Linked DNA regions of Homo sapiens: all the other regions are linked to region 1. The links are contacts of gene promoters, found by promoter capture Hi-C in human tissues and cell types (Jung and others, 2019). All regions are on one chromosome and are shown on one strand. The core of a region is centred on a gene start or on the middle of the fragment in contact, and the rest is flanking DNA. Distances in the headings are between cores, read along the strand shown.

Region 1 (3,812 bases), core at 618-3,117:
GGGGGTGGGGGGTAAGCCTTCAGTTCAATTCGATTTTGCCAAGGTCTGCCATGCACTGGCCCCTGAGCCTGGTGGGCCTGCTAGGTTTACAGGGGAACCAAGCTCGGCCCTGCCCTTAAGAAGCTCACACACCTGGAAGAAAGCAGGGGGCGCGGGGAGGGGAGGAAGTGTGGACGTGAGCGCGCGCGCGCGCGCGTGTGTGTGTGTGTGTGCACACCCGGCACCAGTGCTCCTGGCGCCCGGAACTCCATTCCCTCCCATGACAGCTCATTGACCAGGTCGCCTCGGGAGAGCGCCCTGCAACCCCCACCCTCCCTTTGGACCCCCGCGCTGGTCTGGAGCGCACCCAACCAGCGTAACCTTACACTTCAGACCCAACCCAGGTCTGCTCAGCCCCGGCTGCTCCCAGGGCCTGAGAGTGGAGCTACAGTAGGGATCGGCCTTCACCCGGTCCCGGGCGGCTCCGCGGGGAAGGCGCAGCCCAGGGCGTGTTCTTCCAGTCTTGGGCGGAGTCATCACCACAGTGGACAGAGACTCCAGCGCTACTTCCCGGCGTTGACACCTGCTCCTGGAGAGGGTCCTGGACCCGCGGGCTGTGGTGGGGGTAGGGACTGCTATAGGTTCAAGCGGCTTTTCAACCACAGAGGGCTCCTTGCATTCCCTATCGCCTACCAACGGGATCACAGCAAGACTGGGGCTGGGGCTGATACAACGCAATTTTCCTAGCCTCGCTTGTCCGGCAGCCTGCGGGTCTTAACTGCCAATAGTCAGGGCCGCCGCGCGGGCATCTCGCCTGACGCCTACAGTGGCCAAAAAAGCTCGTTTGCCCGCGCGTTCCCTCTTGTACACACACAGACATTCACATGCACACACACTCTGAGCCGGACTTGTGTGCGATCCCGAGAGCCCGCGAGCAACCAGCCCAGAGTCACACGCACATTTGGACACGTGCGCAGCGCGCCCCCATACCGCCAGCTAGCTGCACACATCCGCTCGTGCAGCCCTGCGCACACACGTGTGCCCCGGGGAAGAGCGCACGGCCGCAGACAGAAGGTCCCGAACGCAGGCAGGAGCTCACACGCAGGCCCCACGACTACCACGCATCTGCGGCCCCAGAGCCCCGCCGTGGCTGAGTTGATGCGCACCAGCCCCAGCGCACCCCGCGCCGCGCGGGGCACTCCCGGGCCTCATGGGCGACCCAAGTTTCCGGGGCGCCCGTACCTTGAATGTGCTGCTTGATGACATTCTCCAGGTGGTCCAGCCGCTCAATAATCTTCAGAGTGTCCCCTTTGTCTTCCTCCAGCTTCTTGTCGGGCGCCGGCTCCTGCCCCCGCACATACACGCTGGCGATGTAGTTGGTGACCCAGCCCACGTAGAGCAGGCAGATGATGTTAGTCATGCCGCTCAGGATCACGCAAGTGGACACCAAAGTTTTGGTCTTCCTGGTGCACACCATTCTGGGCTCCTTCCTCCATATAGAGCTCCCGGGGGCCCTTCCTTGTCGTGCGCCCCGAACTCCCCCGCGCTCGCACCCCGTAGCACGTCCGGAGCCGCTGGGCACCTCAGCACCTGAGTCCCGAGGTTCTCCAAAGCCCGGTCCGCTGCCGGTGTAGCCGCCGTGCCCAAGTTTGCAGCTCCTGCCGCTGGCCACCCGGAGAGACCTTGACAAAGGAAACCAGGTGGATTTTTTTCCAAATTAAAAATCCCTGAACCCTTCCTAGAGGGGTCACGGGTAGCCGGCAGCCGCGCGTCCAGATGTGTACGTCTGGGAAACTTTGCCACTGCCTGTGTCGGCGGCCACGCCGCTTCCCATCGCCAGCGCCGGCTGCCTTGGCGGTCCGACCGGCCCGCGCTGCTAGGAGAACAGCGGCAGCGGCAGCGGCGGCGGGGAGAGCCGCGAAGCAGAGCGGCCCGGCCCCCTCCGAGCGACAAGCGCTGCCACCAATCGCGCTCCGGCTCGGGAGAGGGGCCGGTGCTGAGCGGCAGCGGACCAACGGGGAGGGAGCGGGGGGCGGAGTCCAGCTCCCAGGCCCCACCTGCTGGCCGCCCCTGGCTCCCGCCCCCAGGGACGCGCCCGGGCCTCCACCCGCGCCTGCACAGGCTGCCCCAGACCTGAAGCTCCCGGAGAGGGCGCGCTGCCAGTCCCAGCCCTTAGGTCGGCAGCTTCCTCCGTTAGGGGAATTCCATCTCTTGCTCTTGGGCAGGAATCTCCTGGTTTTGTGGAGGGGGTGGGGGGTTCGCACGGGTCAGCTTCTTTCATCCGCCCGGGGCTTCTCGCATTGGTGCCACCAGTCGACTCCTGGAATCTTTTCTTGGTTGCCAGGACGCTGAGAAGCCAAGGAAGTGCCAGCCCCAGCGGCATCCACTCCTTCCTTGGCCTCACTTGGGCCTCCACCCTGCCCTCTGCCCTTCAGCCACCGGCCTCCTGAGTGTGTCCAGACCTGGCCCTAAACCTGGCTGAAAGGAGCCAACCCTCCGGCAACCTCCCAGAAGCAACATTGGTGACCTATTAGATGACTCTCTCGACCACTTCTTCCCCCCCCCCACCCCCCACCCCCCACCCCCACCGCCTGCCCCAATTTTTGCCCCTATCTAGGTTTTTCTTTAAGTCTGTACAGCTCCCAGGACATGGATGTGTCCTTTAAGCCCAGTTTTCATTTATGTGGAACCAGGGTCATCCAGTGCATAAAGAAACCCTGCAAGGAAGTGCCGCTGAGGGGAACTGAGGTCTGTGAACTGTAAAGCCCTTCTACATGTTGTTTATGATTGCTATCATAGAGGGCGGTGGGAGAGACCTGTGACTGAGCACAGGAGGAGGCCAGACGCAGACAGTGATACTGCTGTGTTTGTTCTTACTGCCAATGTTTACTCATATTATCCTCTTCTGCTGAACACCCCGTTCTCAGCACCTGAACGGAATTCCTTTAAACAAAGACTTTTTACAACATAGATTTCCTGCCTCTTCTCCATCTCTGAGTTGCTTTATTTTTTTGGCCTAAGCCAGGGAGGCAGCCTGCTGCATGCCCACTTTGTTGTGTGCCAGCCTTCCAACCAGCCACAGAAATACTCAGGGCAGCTCCATCCTGGGATATCTTCTGGATTCAAATGACTGGCCCCACAAGAGAGGGAGAGCACAAAACCAAAGAAAGGGCACTTTATGGCCCCATCAGCCAAGGGCCCTTCTACCAATGCTTTGTTTACAAAACCTCCCCAAAGATGCTATGAAAACAGATACCAACTAGGGACCCGGGAAGATTTCCCTTGATCCATAGCTGGAAGAGAGAACAGTGGGTGTGGGTTGGCGTGGGCTGGGGTATAGAAGGGGGAGAAGAATCGTGTGTATGGTATGTAGGAGATACATACATGAGAGGAGAGAATGTACACAATTTCTGAAAAAATCAAGGTAGAGAAATCTGCCTCCAGGAGGGAGTAAAACTTGTCTCTCCCTTTTTTCTCTTCCAGAGGTATAATCCAGCTCACAAATAAAGGATCTGAACTTTCTTCTGGTTGGACAGACTTACAAGCAATGCCCTTGAGTACAGGCTAAGGTGTAATCTTTCCTTCTGTTCTGCCCCCTCTCCCAGGAGGAGCCCTGGAAGTTCAGCCCTTCTTGGGATCTTCCTAAACCACCACAGGACTAGAAAGAGAAGGCAATACTCATTCTTTTCACATTCTTAATGGAAAAAAATTAAATCCCAAGTTTAAAAAAATGAGGGTCAAGAAGAAAACAAAGTGAATTGTGTGATCTTAAATTTTGTACAGCTGATCCTCTAAGATAATGTGTAACTGTAGAGGGGATGAATACAACAAAA
Region 2 (3,812 bases), core at 552-3,051, 470 kb before region 1:
ACCTATTAAACAATAACTCCCCGTTTCTTTCTCCCCTCCAACTCCTAGCCTTTCTAGTCTCTGTCTGTATGAATTTAACTACACTAGGTCCCTCATATAAGTGGAATCACACGGTATTTTTCCTTTTGTTACTGGCTTTTTCCCCTGTGCAAAATGTCTTTAAGATTTATCCACGCTCTAGCACGTGTCAGAACAGAACAACTATTAAGCTGGGTTCCTCGAGCAATTTTCTAAACTGCTTGAGTCATCTCATCTGTAAAATGGGAATTGTAAGAGTATCAGCCTTATGGGGTTCAATGAGTTAGTATGTAGAAAGTACTTGAGCAGTAGCTGGCTCATAGTGAGTGCTCAATAAATGCAGCCTGCCATTATTAGGTTCCTCTCTGATCTGGTGCCAAGGGTCCTTTTTCAAGATCTGCTGCCCTGCTCAGAATGGTACTCTCTGGCCATCCCACATCTCGCACCTGGCACATGGTTTTCTCAATGAATATTTGTGACATGAATGTACACATGGAACTTATTCTCTCCCGGGCTGTGACCCTGGAGGGTCAGATGAGGGACAAAATCTCTAAGCTGTGACAGGGAGTAAAATAGAGCTCTCTTAAGTACCACAGTCACTTAAACTTCAACAGTTTTCAATATGGTACCTAAACCCCAGTAGCAGTAAGCTAACAATTTCACGTCAGGATGAAATAGGAAGCAACATTGGTCTACAACTTGGAGTTGATGGCCAAGTACAGAGTTTAAGACCTTTGCTACTTGTTGGGAGTACAACCTTGAAGTACTTATCTCCCCTGAAAAACCTTAGTTTCCTCATCTGTCAATGTGGATTACAAGCTCTACTTCCCAGGGCTGCCATGAGAACTTCGCATGAGATTCTGATGGAACTCACTTTGTACATGATGCTGCGCCACAAGGGCCACCCTCTTCCTCAAGTCCCTGCCTTGCTCGGGTGGATCTCAGCTACCAGGGAGCAGCACACCATTTGCAGTTTGGATTCCATTTCCTCTTGACTCTTCTTTTCATTATAAACATGATAAAAGTGAGAGAGACAGATGGCAAGACTTGATTCACTTTTACAAAATGTTTTTATGGTGTGAATGTAAAGCTGAAAATGAGGGGAACGAGAAGCTTTCTCGTTCCCCTCAATATCAGGGGAGTTGGGGAGGTGGTGAGCCCAGTGGGGAGGTTTTGGCCTCCAGGGGAAAGCTAATTGCCCATGGCTTGAGCAGTGCTCCCTGCCACTCGTCTACCACTCTGGACACCCTAGGACATCACTGTCAGTGAGGAGAGACAGAGAGCAGATAGACTTTCTCCTTAAAGCACCTTCCCGAAGGGACACTCAAAGTCAGACACTGGTCACTTACTGGCCGATGGCTCTGGGTTGGACCAAATGACGCTGCCCTTTCCAGCACAGTGAGGCAATGTTCTCTGGCTGAAGCCAGGGCAGCACAGAGTGTGCCTGAGTTCCTCTCAACATTTGATTAAGGCCAGGCTTTCCCAGCATGGCACAATCGACATCTTGAGCTGGATAGTTCTTTGTTGTGGGTGCTGTCCTTTGCATTTTTGTATGTTTAGCAGCATCCTTGGCCTCTACTCACTAGATACCAGTAGCACCCTCCCCATTCCAGTTGTGAAAAACAAATCCCCCCAGCGGCTGGCAAAACTGCCCCTTATTGAGAACTACTGGGGTGCCCCAGTAGTTGGCACTACTGATTGGGGTGCCCATTGTCTGCCCTTCTCGTGGGGCTGGACAAGCCAGATGGAATAGGCAGAGAGTTACCTGGCAGCCCTTTGCTGGGGATCTTTTGTCTACTCTCCACTCTGGATCAAGGAGCTCCACTGGCCTCTGACTTCTGGTTGGCTTTGGCCAGTGAGGAACACAGGGAGGAGATCCAAGGAAGGACAGAGGGCGAGGTCAAGGTATTTGTTCCCCCACTTCCTCCCTGCAGGTTTGAGGGTGTGGCTGCCTCCCTTGCAAAAGGCCACCTCTCCGTTTTAGTGGCCTGCTCCAGGTTCTGGGACCCGCTTCTCTCTTAGCCGCATCAGGCCTGGGGGTGCTAACAGCTCCTTCTCTCCCACTGCTGCCAGCCCCAGGGTGCTGCATGCTTTGGTCAGTTACCTCCACCCTGTCTTCACCTTTCTGAATTTCTCTAATTACTACATTTGAATGTGCCGTCTGCTTGCTGTTGAAACATAACTGATTTTTACAAACAAATGTTTATTTTTCTTGCATTAGTTCATTTGACCATTCATTTCTTCAACACATTATTTTTCATATCTACCTATCCTGGGCCAGGCATGATGCCAGGTACTGGGGACACAGAAATGGATCAGACATCATTCCTGCCTGAAGGGAGCTTACAGTCTTCCTGCGGAATAAGACAGGAGGATGGTGATAGTCCGAGACCTGGTGCTCACGTGCTCTATGAGATGTCTGGTAAAGCCCTGGGGAGGACACAGGAAGAGTATGGCCTAGGGAGCCTAGTGACCCAGGGGAGAAGGTACTGGATCTCCTGCAATGATGACACATCATCAGGTGGTTCTACGAGGACGTCTCCAGATCACAGCAGCGCCTCCTAGGCAGAGACACAAAGTCTGCAGGCTCCTCTCTCCAGGCCCTGGGGACTCTCTCTGGGGAGGAGTAAGCTATGCACATTCAAGCCAAGAGCCTTCTTGCCAGGGCTCCAGAGCTCACTCACCCTGAGGCCCTCCCCTCTTTGGCTATTTGAAATTCCTGACTGATGCTGTGAAGAAAGAGAACATTCCAGCACAGAGAAGTCTTTCCCCGCAGCAGCTGCCAAACAGGCTCTTTGCCGAGGTACCTCCCTGCTGCCTGCCAGCCAGCCATATTTCAAAGGTCACAATTTCCTCCCTGTGGTTTTCTACAGAGCTAAAGTCTCCAGGACCCTGAAATAAATTAAAATATTGATTGATTCTTAATATTCTCTCAAATCTCTCAAAATCTCCAGGTCTTATATAAATCAGTGTGCCGGTTCCAGGGACTTATTCAATAATCTGCAAAGTATCCTGGTAATTACTTTTGGGCTGACCCCATGGCAGAGGGAGGCCACCTTTCCATCATTTTTAGGGCCCTGGGTACAGTAGCTGATCAGAGGACTCTCATTTCTTATTTTACTTACTGAACCTCTTCAACACAGTGCCTTGGACAGCACGAGGCAGCCCACCTGCTGGAACGAGTCTGTCGGGCAGACCTGGGTCAGGAACTTGCCTCTCTGCTGCCTCTTTGCTGCCCTGCCTCATTCTGCTTCTCCCCTTCACCCCTCCCACCTCATCCCCTGCCTTTTACTCCAGGGTCCTTAGCTTTTTAGTTCAAGGACAAGGCAAGGATAGTTCAGAAATTAATTTAATAACACTCCATTTCTTCAGATTAAGTAGAGAGCTTGTCTTATTGGGGAAAAGCTGTCTGAAAGCCTCAAGCACATGGGACTTTCTGATGCTGCCCAAGGCAGCTGCCTGGATTTCAGGAGCGAGGGTGGGATGGGAAGAAGGAGCGGGGAGATGGGCCATATGCCTCTCATAACAGCGCTCGTTTATGCTGCAGTAAGTAATAAAGTGACTTCAGCTCATTAGGGGCCAATGCAGTTCTCAAAGAAGGGAATGTGTTCCTAAGGAAGCTAGAGATGATGCCTTGTGTACGGTCCTCCCTATCTGACCCCAACCACACCTGAGCCTTGCATTCTGCTGCAGCATCCTCTAACATCCTCCTGTCCTGAACGCCAGACAGGTGTACGGCCAGCCACCCTGGAACACGTTTTGCTCTTTCACCATTCTTAGCCTTTGAATATAGT
Region 3 (3,812 bases), core at 756-3,255, 450 kb before region 1:
TACTTTCCCACCCAATTGATTGTGAACCTGTTTAGGTGACTTGCTTTGGCCACTGGGATGTTAGCAGATGTGTCCAGAGCTGAATGTGTTTGGGAAGTGTGGTTTGGCATTGCATCCTGTGTCAGTTATCAACATATTACCTCTCGGCTACAATTCACCCTTTGTTGCTCCATCTGTGGAAATATCTAAAGGCCCTTTATGTCTTTTTCCTTTGCCAGCTGGGATAGTGTTCAACTTTGTTGTTGAGGGCCCTGGATGTGCTCCATCCCCTCTGCACACCTGCCCACCAGCCTGGGATGTCCTGCTCCCCAGAGGGTGGTTCTACGTGCCTGAGGGCCATGGAACAGCTCTGGGTTAGGAACCCAAGAGAACTTCTCGGCCATCGTATTTCTCTTGGACTATTCTGATAGCCTGTGAACTGGTCTCCTTTCTTCCATTCTTGCTACCCTGCAATAAATCCTGATCCCAACTGGTTAGTGATGTTTCAGTCATCATACATAAAGTTTTCATATATATCACGTTCTGATTCAGACTAATTTAGCTATTCTAGCATATTGATTCGTCTATTTGATTTTAGGTCCTTAACACAATATTTTCATTATGATATCTTTATAAAATATTTTTGTATCTGGTCCTCCTCACTGCTCTTCAACACACTTTTTCAGTGATTCTTTCCAGATGAATTTTAGAATCATTTTGTCATGTTCCCCAGATAACTCCAATATTATAAGTTCATTTGGGAAAATTAACATCTTTATGTTATTGAGTTTCTCCATATAAGGTATTTACACATTTATATTTAGTTAACTTCTTTTATATCCTCAATGAAACATTGTGATTTTCATTATCTAGGCCTTGCACTTTCTCTTTCTCTTTTATTTTCTCTTCTAGGCATTTAAGTCTTTGCTGTTACTGTGTGTGGGATTCTTTTCTCTTATATTCTTTAAATAATTACTGTTAGTATATTAAAAAGTTATTGATTTTTGCATGTTTACTCTGTAATGAATCACCTTATTGAATTCTTATTAATTCTATGTGTGTTCAATAGATTCTCTTGAGTTTCTTGGATACAAAACCATATTGACTATAAATAATGATAGTTTTTCTCTTCCTTTCCAATAACTATACAACTTACTTATGTTTTGTATCTCATTATGTCAACCAGAACTTCTATAATGATGTTAAATAATAATAGTGTTCCAGAAAATTTTTACATTCCCATGCAAAAAAAAATGAACATTGACACTTTTCTCATTCTATGTAAGCAAATTAAAATGAATCATAGACTAAATGTGGGAGCTAAAACTATAAAGCTTTTATAAGAAAGTGTAAGATAAAAAAATCTTTGTGTCCTTGGGTTAGGTAACATGTTTTGTAGATATGACACAAAAAGCATAAATCATGAAAGAATGATAAATCGAATGAAATTGAAACATTGATATATTGAATTTTATCAAAATGGAAACTTTGGCTTTTTGAAAGACACTTTTAAGAAAATGAAAAGACAAGCCACAGACTGGAAGAAACTATTTTCAAAACACAAATTTGACAAAGAACTTGTATTCAGGATATATAAGGAATCCTTACAACACAGTAAAAGGAAGACAAACAGCCAAATAAATAAATAAGTGAACAGTTTAAACATATACTTCACCAAAAAAAAAAAGATGTATTGGTGGGAAGTAGACACATGAGAAGATGCTCAAAATCATCAATCATTAGAAAAATAAAAATTAATGTCAAACCAAGATATCACTGTACATCCACTAGATGGTTAAAATTTAAAAACTGATAATAGCAAGTGCTGATGAGGATTCAGAACAACTGTAACTCACATGAAGTGTTGGTGGGAATGCAAAACAGCACAGCCACTTTAGAAAACAATTTGATAGTTTTTTATAAAGTTAAACGTTTATTTAATATGACCCAGCATTCCTACTTTTAGATATTTACCCAAGAAAAAAATTTGTATACACAAATGTTTATAGCAGATTTATTGATAATAATCCCAAACTGAAAGCAATACAAATATTCATCAATCATGGAATAGATAAACAAATTTTGGAATATTTATACAATGAAATATCATTCATGCAACAACATGGATGAATCTCAAAAAACAGTTTGCTGAGTGAAAGAAGCAGGACTCAGAAGGCTACCATCTGACTTTATTTATATGGCATTCTGGAGGAGGCCAAATTATAGAGATAGAAATCAGATCAGTGGTTTCCAGAGCTGGGGTGGAAGAGGACATTAACTATAAAGGAACTTGCGAGAAATTTTTGGGGTGATGGATGCTCTGTGTATTGAATATCATGGTGCTTCAACGATGGCATTTATTTGCTGAAATTATCAAATTGTACAGTTTAAGTGAATACATTTTATTGTGTGCAAATTGTACCTCAGTAAACCTGACTTTTAAAAAAGAAATATGCAGTCAACAAAAATTCTTGTTTTGTTCTTTGTTTTAATAGGAATGACATTATGTATTACTTCTGGCCACAGGTTTTAAAAAATAAGATGTTCTTTATTATGTTAAAGAAATAACCTTCTGTGTCTTTAAGATTTCTTAGTTGCCTGCAACAGAAACTGATTCTGGCTGATTTAAGCAAAAAAGAAATTTGTTGGCAGGATTCTGGATGGTTTAGAGAATCACCAGGAAGTCAGGAACAAAGAGTTCCTGGGCAGCTGGCACCACAGTGCAGATCATGACATGGAACACAGAGGAATGGCTGCTGCCATCTTTGACCATGGGATGCCACATCTCGAAACACCAACTCTGCTGGTCCCCAGAGCCCAGATACAGCTACTTGTGCTTCTATCACCGTGTCCCTGGAAACAGATGTTGCTGCTATTACTGGAACTGCCATAAAAGATTCTCTGCTGCCTGGCTTTTTTGCTCCCCAATCTGAGCTTATGATAAATGCCTCACTGTTGCTGCAAGGAGGGGGCCAATACCCAGGACAGTAAGCACTTGGCCTTTCTTCCATTTCTACCGTGAAAGATGGCTCTGCCTCCCACCCAAACTCAGAAAGCGGGGAATTTCCCAAACATTGGAAAACCTTCAGATGTGGAGTGCCCTCCCACTAAAAACATTCCCATCACTGTCCACTTGCATCATTTAGTCCTAGCATTTTAAAGAAGGTCCCCTTTAGGAACTGATTTTGAATCTTCATAAATGATTTTCCTGCTCCTCTTGAGATAATCATATGGTTTCTCTTATTTGACCCATTGATATGTTCTATAAACAGATTTACTAATATTAAAACAGCTTTGCATTCTTCGGTAAACCCTATTTGGCTGTGGTAAATTATTCTTTTAATATACTGTTGAATTCAATTTCCTGGCGTTTTGTCTAGAATTTGCACATTTATATTTATGAGTGAGGTTGGTCTAGTTTTATTTCATGCCGTCTCTTTGCCAGCCTCAGTGACATTCCGGGCCCTTCCTCCCAGGGATTTTGTGCCCCCCTGGTTGGGATTTGAGCCCTAAACTATTTTTCATAAACCACAGGCTTTACAGCAGCCCACGTGGCTCATCGAGTGTGAGGAAATTATAGGAACGGACACAGATATGGTGAGAAACTCTAGATGCCCGAGGCATCCCTTAAATCATTCTGGACATTTACTGAGGGCCTACCGTGTGCCAGCTGCTGAAATATTTAACCTGAAGCTTAAATAAGCTTCTCTATTGGTAGAATTCAGATGAATCATGAGAATCATCTGAAAATAGAGACTGCGAGAGGAGACGGGAAAGGCCATCTCATCTACCTGTGTCTTAAGGTTGGGGGCGGGGGTGGGGGTGGGAAACTG
Region 4 (3,812 bases), core at 333-2,832, 430 kb before region 1:
TATGTCCAAAAACAGTAGACTGAATAAATTTTGTCTTATTCACATAATGGAATACCATACAGAAATAAGCAAAAATGGTCTGTAGTCATGTGACAATGTGAATGAATCTCAGATGACATAATGTTGAGTGAAAAAGGCCAGACCCGAAACAGTACCTATTTGTTATTCCATTTGTATAGAGAACAGAAATGGACAAAACTAATCCATGCTGCTAGATATTAGGACAACAGTCACCCTTGCATAGGCATGGTAACTGGAAAGGAACCCAAATAGGGACCTCAGAGTGCTTGCCATGTTCTATTTCTTGATCTCAGTGCTGGTTACATGTGTGTTTAGTTTGTGAATATTCATTGGGGCCAACATCTATGTGCCCTAGAAAAGTAAGTTATGCTTCAATAAAAAGTTAATAAAAACTTACCCTATATTCTATGGTGTTATGATGTGGATTAAGAAAAGTAATTTCTTAGCACAGGTCCTGGCACTTAGCAAATATTAACAGTGACAACTATTTTTATTTTTGCTGTAAAACGTAAGCTATTTTCTGATGATTATCTGCTACAGCTAATGCTACCAGCTTCATTTTTAAGTTGCTTGATGTTAGTCTGACAAATGAAGGCCTGTCTAATCATGACTCTGCTGCAGTGACTTTGAAATTTGTTAAAATTTGTGTAGCAGTGTTGAGCATCATGAGATTTGTAAGCTGAACCCTGGTGAACCGAAATGTCTGTTAACATGAAATTATTGCTCTCCATTTTGAATATTTTTCTAAAGCGGTTTTGGCAAGTGAGGCCTAGAGCCATGAAAGGGCCATGACTAAGGTTTTTCAGAATCACCTCTGACATGGATTTGACATACAGGTTTGTTATCTAAGTGAGATTCAGAAATGGCTTCAGACAGGACCTTTGCAGGTACCAGTGAGTTTGAGGAGTGTTAGAAATGCAAAATGTCCATGTTACCTGGCCCCTCAGCACATACTGGTCCCATTTGCACTCTGTACAAAGTTTCTTATTGTCTCTCTAATGTTATAATGATCCTAAGGCCAAATTCTCAGATAGATGCAGATGTAATTCACGTTGAGCTTTGCAGTTTATTTGCTCATACTCTTTCTTATTGCAGAAAGTCTCAAAGTGGTTTACAACTGCTGTTTAAGCCATATTTAGGGACATCTGCTAGGCTGTGACCTCCCTCCTCTAAGAACTGTCCCTCTCAATTATAGTGGGGGGCCTGGAAATCATGTTTACACCTTATTAACCCTCCTTCCATAGCGGAACAGAACTGGTGGAGATGGCTGACCCAAGATGGGCCAATTGCAGTCTTTCTCCTGAGATTTTGAAATTAGTACCTAGAGATAGCAGTCTCTTTCAACTAATTGGCTTGACTGAGACCTATTTTCACAGAGAAGAAAAGAAAGCTGGTTTATGGAGGAAGACAGAATGAAACAGATACGTAGGAGAAAGCAGACAGAGTACTTGGGGAAGAGAAAGGTAAGAGACTAGGAGAGGGAATGCTTTGGTTTCTTATATTTTTCTCAATCCTGGTTTTTGTTCCTCCTCTGATCCAACTATACTTCCTCTCCTTGTGGCCATGAAATAACCCCATGATATTACAGTGACTCCTCTCATTATGTTTAGTTTAAGCAAGCTCAGGTAGGCTGCCCACAGTCTCCAACTAACACAGAACATGTTGCCACAAGATAAAGTCATATTTAAAATGTGTTGACAAATGGAAAATGAGAACTGAAGGCTAGGATGGTGTCTGGGGTGAGAGATGATACCAGTGGAAGCCACAAGGCCCAGTGAATTTGCTGCTAGCAGCCAGCATACCTGGCTTTCAGTTTTCTAGTGGCCAATGCCAAGGAGCAGGACTCTCCAGGGATCAGTGGTTCTCAACCCTGACTGTATGTTGGGGACACTAGTGAGCTTCTGAAAAATACTTCCAGGCCCTACTCCAAGAGACAGTGATTTAATTGGTCTAGGCTGGCATCTGTATGTTATAAAAGCTTACTAGTGATTCTAAAGTATGGCCAGAGTGAAGCGCCACCAAGTTATACTATTCACAATATGTAGAAATAAAAGTAAACAGATAAACCAAACAAAAACAACTCCTTAAGAGAAGCAAAGGAGTGGAACTGAGAGAGAAATTCCTCCTGTGAATTTGTAGCTGGAGGGCATGTGTGATACAATGAACAATGTCCTCAAAAATATCCCTATAGTAAATACTCAATTTTCCACAAATGGAAACTCATGGAATTATCCCTAGGTACCACTCAGGAAAAATCACCTCTACAGTCATGGGCCAAAGCATCCTTGCCACTTGGCTCCATCCTGGAATGTGTTCGAGAGGATTTAGAACAGATTCTTACATAAGGACTCCAAAAATTAAAACAATTTCTTTTTCCATGAAGAGGGCCTATGGTTTTTTTATTAGTCCATTTTCACACTGCTGCAAAGAATGACCTTAGACTGGGTAATTTATAAAGAAAAGAGGCTTAATTGACTCACAGTTCTGCATGGCTGGGGGTGCCTCAGGAAACTTACAATCGTGGTGAAAGGTGAAGGGGAGGCAAGGCACGTCTTACATGGCAGCAGGAGAGAGAGAGAAAAAAGAGAGAGAGAGAGAGAACACAGCATAGGAGAAACTGCCCTCATGATCATGATCCAATCCCCTCCCACCAGGCCCCTCCTCTGATGTGGGGATTACAACTAGAGATGAGATTTGGGTGGGGACACAGAAACAAACCATATCAGTTTTCATCTGATTCATCTGATTATCAGTGGTGGCTCTGAACCCTGTGAAGCTTAAGAACCACTGGAAGAGAAAAATTCATGGACTGCTTCTTTCTGACAATTTTCTAATCGCACAGGAGTCTTTTAACTGCTCGATTGGGCTTCCAGGTGCCAGGGCTACCTGGCATGCAATGCAGCTTGCTGTACTGCTGACTTGAGCATGGAGCAGGTCTGCCTCACTGGTCAGCTGGCAGGCTCAGGATCAGCATTTACTTAGGAAAGTTGAGGAGCCTGGCAAGGACACAGACATAAATAGAAAGCAAAGAGGCAGGCTAAGATTTTCCTCAGGAAGCATTTGGATACACTCCAGTGCACAGACAAAAGGGTAATTGAGCCCCCAGTATTCTCCATCAGAGCACGAACAGCAATAATTTTTGCTTGGAAAAAATTTAAAGCAGGTGGGCCAAATACCCAATTTGTTCACAAAATATTTTGGTAAACACCCATGGAATATTTAACCTTGAAAAATAGAGTTTCCTTGTGCCCTTTCCATGCTAAATTGTTTGCCGAATATACGACTCTGTGACTTGAATTTGTGAACTTGTTTCTTAGGGTTATTGGCCACAAGTCAGTTTAATATTGGAGGCTGTCTACAAAAAAATAATGACTTTGTTTTTAGAAGCACTTGATTTGTGGTCCTGTTTTACAACATTAATTAGATAGTAGGTATGCTATCTATTAAGGTTAGTCTCAGCTCATGACACTATGGAATCTGTGAATAAGTGAATACCCTTCTTTCTATTTGTTATAACAAAGGAGTAATATCCTGATAGCCTAATCACCTAAGAGATGCTAATTTAACAGAAGAAAGGCCAGAATAAATATCCATTTTATTTCTTTGGAAGATGCTATCTGAGCCATCAGAAGAATACCTTTATTGGGTAGGTCCTGGATCAGGTGTTGGCAAACCACAGTCTACTGGCCACATCTGGCCAGCAGCATTTTTTTGTGTGGCCTGCAAGCTAAAAATGTTTTTTAAATATATTTAACAGATTGAAATAAATCAGAAGAAGAAGAATATTTTTT
Region 5 (3,812 bases), core at 494-2,993, 370 kb before region 1:
GTCAGGTAAGTAACTTGCCCATGGTCACAAAGCATGTAAAAGGCACAGCTGAAATTTCAATAAAAATGGTCTCATTTGAAGTCCAGTGTGCTTCTCATCACACCCAGCTTCACCATCCCCCATCCTTTCTCCTCTTAGCTCTCATTACCAGCTACCTGCAAGACACAATGAAAAAAAATACATGAAATCTTACAAGCGTGGGCACCAATATCCTTACCATTTTTGAGGCATCTTAGTTTTCATGCTGTGCCCACAATGGGGGCAAATGAGCCAACTGTTAAGGAACAAAGCCATTGGGGTGTGTTAGTCCAGGTAAGGCTATAAAAGACAGCTTTTACTCTGTCAGGTTATGTCTGGCATCAGAAATGTAAGTCCTCTGGAGAGTGCCTGAACTCTGGCCCAAGGTCAAACTTCAGAGCACCAGACTCCAGGGTAGAGGCCCATGTTCAAGAATATCTGTGCCTAGCTCATAATGATAATGAAAATAATAGCAATAGAAACCACTAAGTTTCTATGAATTAAACACCGCTTATGCACTACTTCTCAGTGTCACCTTTCTCTTATTGCAGCAACTGTTGCAATGACCAGTGCTGCATGGATGTCTTAGTCCGTTTCATACTGCTATAGCAGAATACCCAAGACTGGGTAATTTATAATAAACAGAATTTATTGGCTCATGGTTGTGGAGTCTGGAAAGCCCAAGATCAAAGTGCCAGCATCTGGTCAGGACCTTCTTGCTAGCATCACATGACAGGAAGTAAGGGGATGAGAGAGAGAAAGAGGGGGCTGAACTCACCCTTGTATAATGGTATAAACGACACCCCTGAGAGTGGAGCCTTTGTAGCCTAATCGCCTTTTAAGAATGTTACAATGACAATTAAATATCAACATGAGTTTTGGAAGGGACAAACATTCAGACCATAGCAATGGGCTTTAATCAATTTTACACAGGTACAACTTAACAGTTTCTCAACTGAGATATGTTCATGTACTGCTTGCCTTTTACCCTGGGACCTCTCCGTTGATGCCATTGTAAAACCCTACTCTGCATCACACAAGTGGAACATAGAAGTACAAGAATGTTAACATCCCGTAAAATAAAATACTGGCCAATGAAAGATAAAAGCCATTGAATACATCCTTCCCCCATTCTCTCCTCTGATAGTCCTGAGACACAGCTTGTGTGGTCCAAGAGCTCTCAGAGATGACACCATGATGAAGTATTATGGGATCACCTCAATTAGTTATAGCCGGAATTTGGTGACTACAGTGTGCTCAGGCTGGAGAGTGTCTGGGCATGGGTGAGGCTAGTCCCTGGATTAGGGTATCTATAGGACAAGAAGTCTCTACCAAAGTGTTGATGGCCTCAGTTTCAATAGTGATGATGAGCTGGATTATTAGGTTAAGCTGGGATCCAAGGTAAATTGCTTCAGTACCAAAAACATATTGGCCTACATTCTCTACTTTCTGAAGATATTGGACTATTAACTTTCATATATGTAAAACCAGCTGTGAACAGAACATGACCTAGGAATGCTACCTTCCTGCTCTGGGATATACTCCCTTTGGCTGGTCCCAGAGTTGAGCTGTTTAGCTAATCAAGAGCTTTCTAGTCCAATCAATGGCTAGTGGAATATCCGATCCAAAAGGTGTATTTTTGGATAATCTTATATCAGCACTTGAGCAAAAACTTCCACATAGCCTCTGAAATCCCAGGCAAAATCAAATCAGGATAGAACCTCACGTGTGATAACATTCATCCTCACCATGACTTTCATCCTGAGCCTGGACTTCATCGCTCGTGTTCAGAGGTGCTACATGCTAACATATGAATGACTGAGGAGTGGTCTAATCTAGGGTTTTTTTCTACCTGTGCTGACTGCAGGTCCTTCTCTCAACTTTAACTAGCAATGATTCTACCAAGTTGTTGCAAAGGGGCTGTGGCAGAGACAATGCTAGTGTGGGAACACAAGAATACTGAATGCTGCTTGGAGGTAGAGGAATCTGACCCATGTCAGGCTGTGAAGCACTGAGATCTGGGATTCTTTGTCACTTGAATTTAACTCACTAACACATGCATACATATACACATATGCACACATATACACCTATATGGTCGCTCTTCAGTATGGAGATTGGTTCCAGGAACTCCCAAGGGTATCAAAATCCACAGATGCTCAAGTTCCTGTACTAAGATGGCATAGTATTTGCATCCTCCTGTATATTTTACATCATCACAAGATTCTTAGAATACCCAATACAATGTAAATGCTATGTAAATAATTGTTATACTGTATTGTTTAGGGAATAATGACAAGAAAAAAGTCTTTACATGTTCAGTATAGATGCAACCATTGATTTCTTAAATATCTTTGGCCCAGCAGAGTGGCTCACACCAGTAATCTCAACACTTTGAGACGCCAAAGCAGGAGGGTCACTTGAGGCCAGGAATGTGGGACCAACCTGGGCAACATAGTGAGACCTCATCTCTGTTGAAGTATATATGTAATATATACATGATAAAGATATTTTTGACTCAAAGTTGGTTGAATCCACAGATGAGGACCCCACAGATATGGAGAGCTGACTGTACATACATCTATTTGTATGCATATATATACCTATATGTGTGTGTTTATCAACACTAGAGGGTAGATAACTTTATTCTCAAGCATGACACCCCAGGTACTTCCTCACCTTAGGGCCTTTGCACATGCTGCTTTGTCTGCGTGAACCCTCAGTCTGGCTTGCTACCTTTTTTCCTTCAGGTTGCTCAGAAGTCGTTCTCAGGAACATATCCCTTGAACACCCTATAAAATTGCTCGCCCCTGGCATCTCTATCCCCTTTCCCTACTTTATATAATTTCACAGCACTTCTAACATGCCATATGTATATAATACGTGTGTGTGTGTGTGTGTGTGTGTGTGTGTGTGTGTGTGTGTGTGTGTAACTTGTCTATTGTCTGTTTCCCCTAAACAACATGCAAGCCCCAAGAAAACAGGGGTGTTCATTTACGTAGTTCTGTCCTCCATCCCTGTACCATAAGCAATGCCTGGCACATGGTAGATGCTCAATACATATTTATTAAATGAATTCATGAACCCCTTTTACAGAGACAATCCCAGAGGGGGTAGTTAGACTCAGAGCTAGTGAGTGACAAGAAAGATTTCAATCCCAGGAATTTCTGCTTCAAAGCATTGCTATTTTCTGCTATTAGGCTTCAGGCATGTGCAGAGTAGCCACGGGGTTGTTGTAATGGATGATGCAACCCTGAGGAGAATATTTGCTGTCCGACACCAGGTACAAATGAGCTGACTCTGTCCCAGTGGCCATGCTCTGTTTGTGGTGTTTCTGTTCTGCCCTCAAAGGCATTTACATTGTCAGCAACATCTGTGGTCTTCAAAATTGCTTCACCTCTCTGTGGATCAAACACCTTCAGCTTCCTATCTGTAAATATTGCCTTTGAGGTTTTAAAGCTAAGCTTAAGTTCTGCCAGGCTGGAAGGGAGGTGGGTCAGGTGTTCCGTGACCTTGTTGGCAATAGTCACACACACTTCTCATTGGCCAGTTGATGGTGCCCCCTTTTCCCAGGTGGCTCCTGCCCCAAAGCAGAGAACCTGTGATGAGCTGCTAACATTTGGCCGATGGGGATCTCAACTGCCACATTCACCTTCACTTGGAGCCATAAAGCTTTCCACAGAAGGGATGGAGTCTTGCCTTTATTCAGTGGGGGCTTTAAATAATGTTGATGCCTGAATCCCATGCCTGAAAGTTCGGATTAAATTGGTGTGGGCGTCATGATTTTAAAAATA
Region 6 (3,812 bases), core at 554-3,053, 350 kb before region 1:
CGGGGAGGAAGAGATACTCAGAGGGTACAGATCTGGACAACTTGGCTCAATTGGACAGGGACATAGAGACATTATGTGGTGACAGTCTTTAAAACCTGGTTTCCACGATGTGGCTACACCATATAATTTTAAAAGACACCCACATTAGGGCTAATGTCTCTCCAGGCCCTTTCTGCCCAATCTTGTTTCCAAAACAACAAGGAAGGTTAAAATTCCTGACTGTGGGTAGAGAGGTTGGCTGAGGCAGAGGGCAGGGCAGTGGGACTTGAGGGTCTTATGGGGTCAGGTGCTAGATGTGGTCTAGGGTGTCTACCTCATTCCCCTCCCTCCTGTTTGGAGCTGAAGGCAGGAGAAGGAGCATGGCTGAGAGATGACACGTTTTTGGGTGACTATTCTGTTTGTTTTACTGGGTTTTAGAGAGTGGTGACCATGGCGATAAAATCTGAAGGGCAGAGAGTGAATGCTTCTGTCTTGCCTCAGAACCCCCTTACATCTCTTGCTTGTAATTAGAAATGGTAAGAATAAAAGAGCTCTGATTTCCAACAACCTTTGCTTCACAAGGGCCATGTCAAATGATGACAGCCCTATTCTTATAAAAGCAGATTCTGGGAGGAGCAGAAATCCCTTTTCTCTATGGAGTCAGTGTGTTTGCACTCATGCACGTTTGTGTATCTGAGTATGTACATGTATGTCTGCATGTGTCCAACCTGCTGCATGTGTGTGCATATGTGTATGTGTGTGGCTATGTTAACCTGTGCGTGGATGTGTACATAGATGGTGAAACATGTGTACCTCTGTTGCATGTGTGCACAGCCGTTGTAGGGATTGTGTGTGCATTCCCCCATGGGCGAGGGGCTGTGAGGGAGTAGGTCCTGGTATCTAAAATCTTTACATCCTGCTTCTATCAGTCTTGTTTGTTGTAAAGAGCAGGGAGCTGGTCAACCAGCTGAGGGAAAAGAAAAAACATCAGGGTGTGTATGGGTTGGGTCTGGGAGGAGGAAACCCAGGCAGCTCCAGGGCCAGTTTGCTGCCTTTTGCTCATCAGCTCCTTTCTTTTCTCTGCTTAGTTGTGGTTTTCCCCATGATCCCAGCCTGCACAGGGGTCTAGTTTCTTGGTCCTCTGAGGCTGGCTCTTCCCCAGGTACATCCTGTGCATGGCCATGGGTCCTGGCCTTCTTCAATTGGCTGAATATGGTGTGTCATGGTGCAAATTCACAGGCAAAATTTGATTGGCCCCAGCTGGTCATTTTTGTGCTTAGTCATTACCTACTCAGCAGCCAACAAAATACCTGTCCATGGGTCAGGCTGAATCAGCTATGGTCATGGCACAAACAGGGTCACACCTGGGACTGTGGTTGGGATAGTTTTCTTTAAAAGAGATGTGGACATGGAGGACAATGATGAATGCCTCAGATACTTATGCAAAAATTCCCTGTCACCTGTGAAGTGCCCACCCTTATCTCTGTGGAGGTCAGGACCATGGGGATGTCCCCCAACAAGGAAGGACTTGCCTGAGCAAGGCGGGATGAGCGTAGGCAGCCTCCTGGGGCCTGGCCTGGCCTGGCCCTCACCACCCCTCCCCTATGTCCCTGTTCCTTGAAGGAGGGAGCTTCGAGGCTGAATTGTGTCACCTGACCCCAAACTTGTCCTAACCCCCAGTACCTCAGAATGTGATCTTATTTGGAGATAGGGTCTTTACAGAGGGAATGAAGTTAGTATGAGGTCATTTGGGTAAGTCTTGATCCAATACGACTGGCGACCTTAGAAGAAGAAGAGATTTGGAAATAGAGACATGCATAGAAAGAAGAGGATGTGAAGAGACACAGGGAGAAGAGGCCAAGCACAAGCCAAGGAGAAGACCCAGAACTGATCCATGCCATCCTTCCCTCACAGCCCTCAGAAGGAGCTACCCCTGCCAACATCTTGATCTTGGCCTCCCAGCCTCCAGAGCAGTGAGCCAATACCTTTCTGTTGTTGAAGCTCCCCAGTTTGTCACACTTTGTAACAGCAGCCCTAGCAAACTAATATACCTCCCCCAAAACTTCCTCAAAATAGGGGAGAGGATGTGGGGCACTAACACCATGCCACCAGGTGTGTGTGGCAGCCAGGACACCGGGCTTCTGACACTCAGCCTCTGGATTCACCAAATGAGGAAGCTTCAAGGCTGGTGCCTGAGCTAGTCATTTAAAATTTTTGATGAGACCCACTGAAGATTTCAGGAAGGAAGGGATCTGATCATATTTGTATTTCAGGAAGACCCTTGTAGCTATCACAGTGTGGAGGATAGATGAGTTGGGGAGGCTGTCTGTGAGTGTTGAAGAGGCTTGGGGAAGATTTCAGAGCTGTTTCGGAGGCATCGCTGCCATAATATACTGAGGGCAAGAAGGGGTGGTGGAGGGTGAGGACAGGAAGAGCTCAGTCGCGAGGAGTGTCTGGTTCGAGCACCTGGTGGAGGTGGTGCTGGTCCTGGTCCCTGGGCCGGGCCTTATGGGGGCCCTCAGATCAGCATTGTCTGCATTATGGCCACACGCCTGCCCAGGGCCCATCAGCAGTGAGAGATCAAGCCTGGAACTTAGAGGAGAGCTCTGGGGTGCACACGTGGATCTGGGTATCACTGGTGTCCAGGTGCAGATGGGCCATGGGTGGGGACAATCCGAAGGAGTGGGCGTAAGCTGCTTCTCCCAGAAGCATACTCAGGGACAAGCATTTGGGAGGTGATTGGGGCAAGTGCAGAGGAGTGAGGGATATGAGACAGGAAAGGGAAGAAAGGCCAGGGGCATTCAGGAGCAACTGGGGCTGAGTCCCTCCAGGGCCTGTCTGAGACTACAGGATCAGGCCTCCAATTTGCACCCCTGAAGGGTGAGGAAGCCTATCCCTTATTGGCTGGGGGTTGTTCCTATGAACCAAGCTCTCTAATACTTCCTGTCTGCCCTGCATGGGCTAAGCAGGTGCCTATGGCCAGAGAAAGGCCTCAGGCAGTGATGCAGGCTGCTGGAGCTATATGGCTGTTGGCAGTGACTTTTTTTTTTTTTTTTTTTTGAGACAGAGTCTCACTCTGTTGCCCAGGCTGGAGTGTAGTGGCATGACCTTGGCTCACTGCAGCCTCAACCTCCTCAACTCCTGGGTTCAAGTGATTCTTGTGCCTCACCCTCCCAAGTAGCTCGGATTACAGGTGCCTGCCACCACACCCAGCTAATTTTTATATTTTTAGTAGAGACTGGGTTTCACCATGTTGGCCAGGCTGGTCTCAAACCCCTGACCTCAGGTGATCCACCCACCTCGGCCTCCCAAAGTGCTGGGATTACAGGCGTGAGCCACCGTGCTTGGCCAGCAGTGACTTGGAGTCTGGCCAGGATACAGTCAATGTACTCTGGCTTCTGCCATTGTTGCTGCTAACAATTGTGTCCATCTTCTTGGGGGGTGTGAGGAGCCCATTCTCTTCTTTCATTACTCATAACAGAGGGGACCATGGGCAGGAACTAGGCGAGGGCTGGGGGCTGAGTTAGGGAACTGGGTGGTGGGCCAGGCAGCAGGGCTGGCTGAATAGGAGGTCTTACAGCACAGGCTAAAAGAGTCCTTTCCAGTATCAGGGAAGGCAGTGGAAGCAGGAAACACAGGCGTTTAATGTGCAAATGTCCTGAGGCTGTCCCAGAGGGGCTGACCTGGAGCCCTGCGTGAGTGAGCCAGGTGCTAAGGGCTGAATTGAGTCCCCCAAAAGGATATGGTAAGGTCCTCACCCCCAGTACCTCAGAATGTGACCTTATTTGGAGATAATCTTTACAGAGGTAATCAAGTTAAATGAGGTTGTTAGG
Region 7 (3,812 bases), core at 852-3,351, 300 kb before region 1:
TGACAAAGACAAGATCTCCCGGACACACAGAAAACCACAACTTGCTACCCCTCTGAGTCAGGCAGGGCCATGTTACCATGTCTGGCCAGTGAAATGAGAGAGGAAGTGATGGGAGACCCTTTTTGGCCTAGAAAGTGAGAGTCAGGTTTCCATTTCCACTCTTCCCATTTGGAGGTGAACTGGGTTGGATTGTGTCACCCCAAAATTCATATGTTAAAGTCCTAACCCCCAGTACCTCATAATGTAATCTTATTTGGAAATAGAGTCATTGCAGATATAATTAAATTTGCATGAGGTCACACAGAAGTAGAATGGACCCTTAATCCAACATGAGTAGTGTCCTTATAAAAAGGGGCAATTTGGACACAGACGCACATACTGATAATGCCATGTGAAGGGTGATGTTAAGCTGCTACAAGCCAAGGGACCAGCAGAAGTTAGGAGAGTGCCTGGAGTAGAATCTTTCCTAGGCCTTCAGAGGGAGCTTGGCCCTGCTGAGACCGATCTCGAACTTCTAGGCTTCAGAATTGTGAGACAGTAATTTTCTGTCGTTTAAGTCTCGCAGCTTGTGGTACTTTGTTACGGAAGCCCTGGGAAACTTCTGCAGGGGAAAAGGTCAGATGGTCAGGCTGTGACCCATAAGAGTCACTGAGTCACTAGTGGCCTGGAGTGTCCCTCGACCTTCAACAAACTTTGTGAAAAGAGTAAGAAAAATACCTGAAACCTAGAAATAAGGCAAAAACAAAGAGGGGAAGTGGCCTGTCCTTTTAATATTATCCTGGGACATTAACGGGCCCATCCAAGAGTATGTAATTTTCCAAGAGAATGTACTCATGCTTGACTTTGCTATTTACCTTTTGATTCTCTCTCAGACACTATGAAGTTGTATGCTAACTCCTAGATTTCTGTCTGTGTAGAAAAGATCACATGAAAGGCTATAATTTTATTTCCCCATAGGACATGAACCACTTTTGCATTTAATCTCTCCATTTTATTTTGACGTTTTTCTTTAGAAAATGTCTACAGATACTCAGTTCCTCAAATGCACTCAGTACTTGCTTAACCGTCTTACTTAGAAAATGCCTACAGATACTCAGTTCCTCAAATGCACTCAGTACTTGCTTAACCGTCTTACAAAGTCAGCAAGATGAACGGGGCCAGCCTGCAGTCCTGCCTTCTTGCCCTTCTTACACCTTCACCATTCTTGGCCATTGCTGGCTGAAATCCAAGTCATGAAGCTCAAATGTTGCCCCATATGCAATGCTCAAGAGAGAAACAAGTTCAAATCTTGGCTGTGGTGAAGATTTGAAGATTAGAAAATAGAGAATAGTCTGTTGCTAGCACCAGAATATAGCTTCACAAGGACAGTCACTTTTTTTCTGGTTCATCCATTTCCCAGGGCCAAGAACAGTATCTGGCACATGAATGCTGTTCATAAAAAAGGAGCAATTTGGACACAGACACACACATGGAGAATGTCATGTGAAGGGTGGAGTTATGCTGCTACAAGCCGTTACCTTGATTTGGACAAGGTAATGAATTAAAAAGTCATAGAATTCCAGGGTGCAAGAGCCCTTAGGAATTTCTTAGCTTAAGAGCCTACATGGTATAAAAATCCTTCAGAATGTCCCTGGAGCCTGCCAAACATGGCTCAGTGCTGATGACGGAGATGTCAAAATAACCTGAGCCAATGATTGGGAAGAGTTTCCTCATGCTCAGCCAAAAATCTGCATCCTTATACTTTGGAAGGAGTTTTAACGTCCCCCTTAAATCTGTTCTCTTTTTAAGCTAAACAATTCCTACTCTATTAACTCAAGGACATGGTCTAGAGTGTCTTTACCAATCTGGTAATAGTAATAATAGCCAACATTTAGTAAGCGATGACTGTGTACCAGATTTTGTTCTCTAAACGCTTTATGTGCATTGATTTATTTAATCCTTATAACAACTCCACAAAGTTAGTACTACTATATTCTCTCTTATGCTGCTACAAGCCAAGGGACCACCAACCACCAGCCAATTTCATTACAGGCAATAAAATTGAGGCATGAGGAGACACTCACCTAAGAGACTCAGTTAGTAAGTGGCATGGCTGGGATTTGAACCCATATAGTCTGGTTCTTAATCACTATATATTGCCTCAGAAATTGTCTTTCAGCATTTTCAGGCTTCCTATCAAGTGTGATGCTTAGGGAGGAATATGTAAGTTTTCATAGAAGAGGTCAGAAATACCGTTACCCTGGCTTGGTCTATATTCCCTAGGCAACAATGTAAAGTGCCACCTCCATCTCCTGCAGTTGTACAGTGCACAACCTGCACAATGGCATGTGACAGTTCCATCCGTGCATACACGACCTTCCCAAAGCTCTCCTTGTCCTATGTGGCCATGGTAACAATAAAGATCTTGCTGAGAACTGCCAGTAGGAGGGGGTGACATCCCTGGAAATGCATGTTGAATGTTTGATTTGGACCAAGTCTGTAGGATTCAGAGGATCTTTGGGGTCCTCACCTGTCCACAGTCTCCTTCTGAGATGTACCCTGACTTCATTCTCAGGTAACACGTCCTAGAGTACCCCTTTTCTTACTCTTCCATGAGCAGTGAACTTCTTGCGGGCTGGAAGATGACTTTGGGAAGCCTTGCCAGACAGCAGCCCCTTACCTTTCACTCATCCCCTGCCCCTGCGTTCATCATGGGTGGATGTAGGAGCTCAGGCTGGGAATACCCAGCCCGTCCCCAGGATAACCTTGTCCTTTCCAGCTCTCCCAGCTCACTGGGCAGGCCACAGCCTCAACAGAGTCCTGCCACAGCAGCATCCCTACCCCTTCCTGGGAAATGTGTGTAATCTGAGGCTGGTCCCAAACCTCCCTACACAGCACTGCTAGTTGTGCATCTGAGCATGGCCTGGCGTGAAAGGTCACCAGGACACCAAGGGCTCCCTGTACAGCCCAGCTGCATGAGTGTTCTGTGGCTTTGGGGGATGAGGAAGGGAGACCCAACCCTTTGAGACTTGCTGCAGCTTCACATCAAGAAGCTTATTTACAAAGGCAGCTCCCAGCATTCCTGGCAAGCACAAATTCACAGTTTCCCACGCCAACTGAATTTCAAAACAAAGGAATTAGAGATAAGCAGATTGTCAGAGCTAGGAGTGTTGAGCCTAAAGAAGCCCAATCCAGCTTTATCATCTGCAGACAGAAATACAGGCTCAGATGAAACTCATCAATGGTGAGAGTGGTCAGAACCATCCTTACCTTTGGGTGGAGGTATGACCAAGAGGACAAATGAGGAAGCCTTCTGGAATGATGGGTTTGAACTTAATGGTGACTGTACAGTGTATACAAAGTTAAGAACTGTGCAGTTAAGATTCGTGTATTTTAGTATAAAATTCTACCTCAATAAAATAGTAAAACAAAATAAAGGCCCAGAGAAGATTAAGGTGATGTTGCAATTGTGTAGCAAGACAAACCCTTGAACTCAGGCATCCCAATGCCCACTTCACTGTCCTTTCCTAACTCCCTTACATTTTTGGTGCCATAGTAACTCAGTGATGCTCCAACAGTTTATGAGTAGGTTTTCTGTTTTGTTTTTTTGAGATGGAGTCTCACTCTGTCGCTCAGGCTGGAGGGCAGTGGCGCAGTCTCAGCTCACTGCAACCTCTGCCTCCCAGGTTCAAGTGATTCTCCAGCCTCAGCCTTCCGAGTAGCTGGAATTACAGGTGTGTGCCAACATGCCTGGCTAATTTTTTTATATTTTTAGTAGAGACAGGGTTTTGCCATGTTGGCTAGGCTGGTCTCGAACTCCTGACCTCAGGTGA

Evidence for each region. The method cuts DNA at HindIII sites, captures the fragments that hold promoters and counts their contacts. A contact is called where the count stands out against the background at its distance.
Region 2: a fragment that was not itself captured here is called in contact with the fragment with the promoter of GALNT18 in region 1 in 1 of the 25 tissues and cell types used here (stomach).
Region 3: a fragment that was not itself captured here is called in contact with the fragment with the promoter of GALNT18 in region 1 in 1 of the 25 tissues and cell types used here (bladder).
Region 4: a contact is called between a fragment that was not itself captured here and the fragment with the promoter of GALNT18 in region 1, in 1 of the 25 tissues and cell types used here (IMR-90 fibroblasts).
Region 5: a fragment that was not itself captured here is called in contact with the fragment with the promoter of GALNT18 in region 1 in 1 of the 25 tissues and cell types used here (mesenchymal stem cells).
Region 6: a fragment that was not itself captured here is called in contact with the fragment with the promoter of GALNT18 in region 1 in 1 of the 25 tissues and cell types used here (neural progenitor cells).
Region 7: a contact is called between a fragment that was not itself captured here and the fragment with the promoter of GALNT18 in region 1, in 4 of the 25 tissues and cell types used here (bladder, dorsolateral prefrontal cortex, mesenchymal stem cells and 1 more).

Annotation. Positions count from the first base shown.
Region 1 is chr11:11,620,138-11,623,949 of GRCh38, forward strand. GALNT18 (polypeptide N-acetylgalactosaminyltransferase 18) reads right to left here and starts at 1,868. Exons shown (of 11, transcript NM_198516.3): 1 at 1,222-1,868. The coding sequence starts at 1,456. RefSeq lists enhancers at 1-718, 171-310, 1,351-1,400, 1,611-1,690, 1,808-2,308 and 1 more and silencers at 891-960, 981-1,060, 1,811-2,170. The HindIII fragment of the contact is 13,654 bases long and covers 1-3,812 here.
Region 2 is chr11:11,145,606-11,149,417 of GRCh38, forward strand. All of the region lies in intron 3 of LINC02752 (long intergenic non-protein coding RNA 2752), which reads left to right. Among named protein-coding and RNA genes, the nearest start is that of LINC02752, 32 kb to the left of the region's middle. The HindIII fragment of the contact is 6,611 bases long and covers 1-3,812 here.
Region 3 is chr11:11,165,192-11,169,003 of GRCh38, forward strand. It overlaps LINC02752 (long intergenic non-protein coding RNA 2752), which reads left to right. Exons shown (of 8, transcript NR_187402.1): 4 at 2,632-2,966. Among named protein-coding and RNA genes, the nearest start is that of LINC02752, 52 kb to the left of the region's middle. The HindIII fragment of the contact is 3,344 bases long and covers 334-3,677 here.
Region 4 is chr11:11,186,718-11,190,529 of GRCh38, forward strand. No RefSeq gene overlaps it. Among named protein-coding and RNA genes, the nearest start is that of LINC02752, 73 kb to the left of the region's middle. The HindIII fragment of the contact is 3,554 bases long and covers 1-3,359 here.
Region 5 is chr11:11,247,402-11,251,213 of GRCh38, forward strand. It overlaps LOC124902631 (a long non-coding RNA gene), which reads right to left. Exons shown (of 2, transcript XR_007062594.1): 2 at 1-155. Among named protein-coding and RNA genes, the nearest start is that of CSNK2A3, 100 kb to the right of the region's middle. The HindIII fragment of the contact is 3,685 bases long and covers 1-3,586 here.
Region 6 is chr11:11,266,259-11,270,070 of GRCh38, forward strand. No RefSeq gene overlaps it. Among named protein-coding and RNA genes, the nearest start is that of CSNK2A3, 85 kb to the right of the region's middle. The HindIII fragment of the contact is 5,514 bases long and covers 1-3,812 here.
Region 7 is chr11:11,318,033-11,321,844 of GRCh38, forward strand. All of the region lies in intron 9 of GALNT18 (polypeptide N-acetylgalactosaminyltransferase 18), which reads right to left. Among named protein-coding and RNA genes, the nearest start is that of CSNK2A3, 33 kb to the right of the region's middle. The HindIII fragment of the contact is 7,313 bases long and covers 1-3,812 here.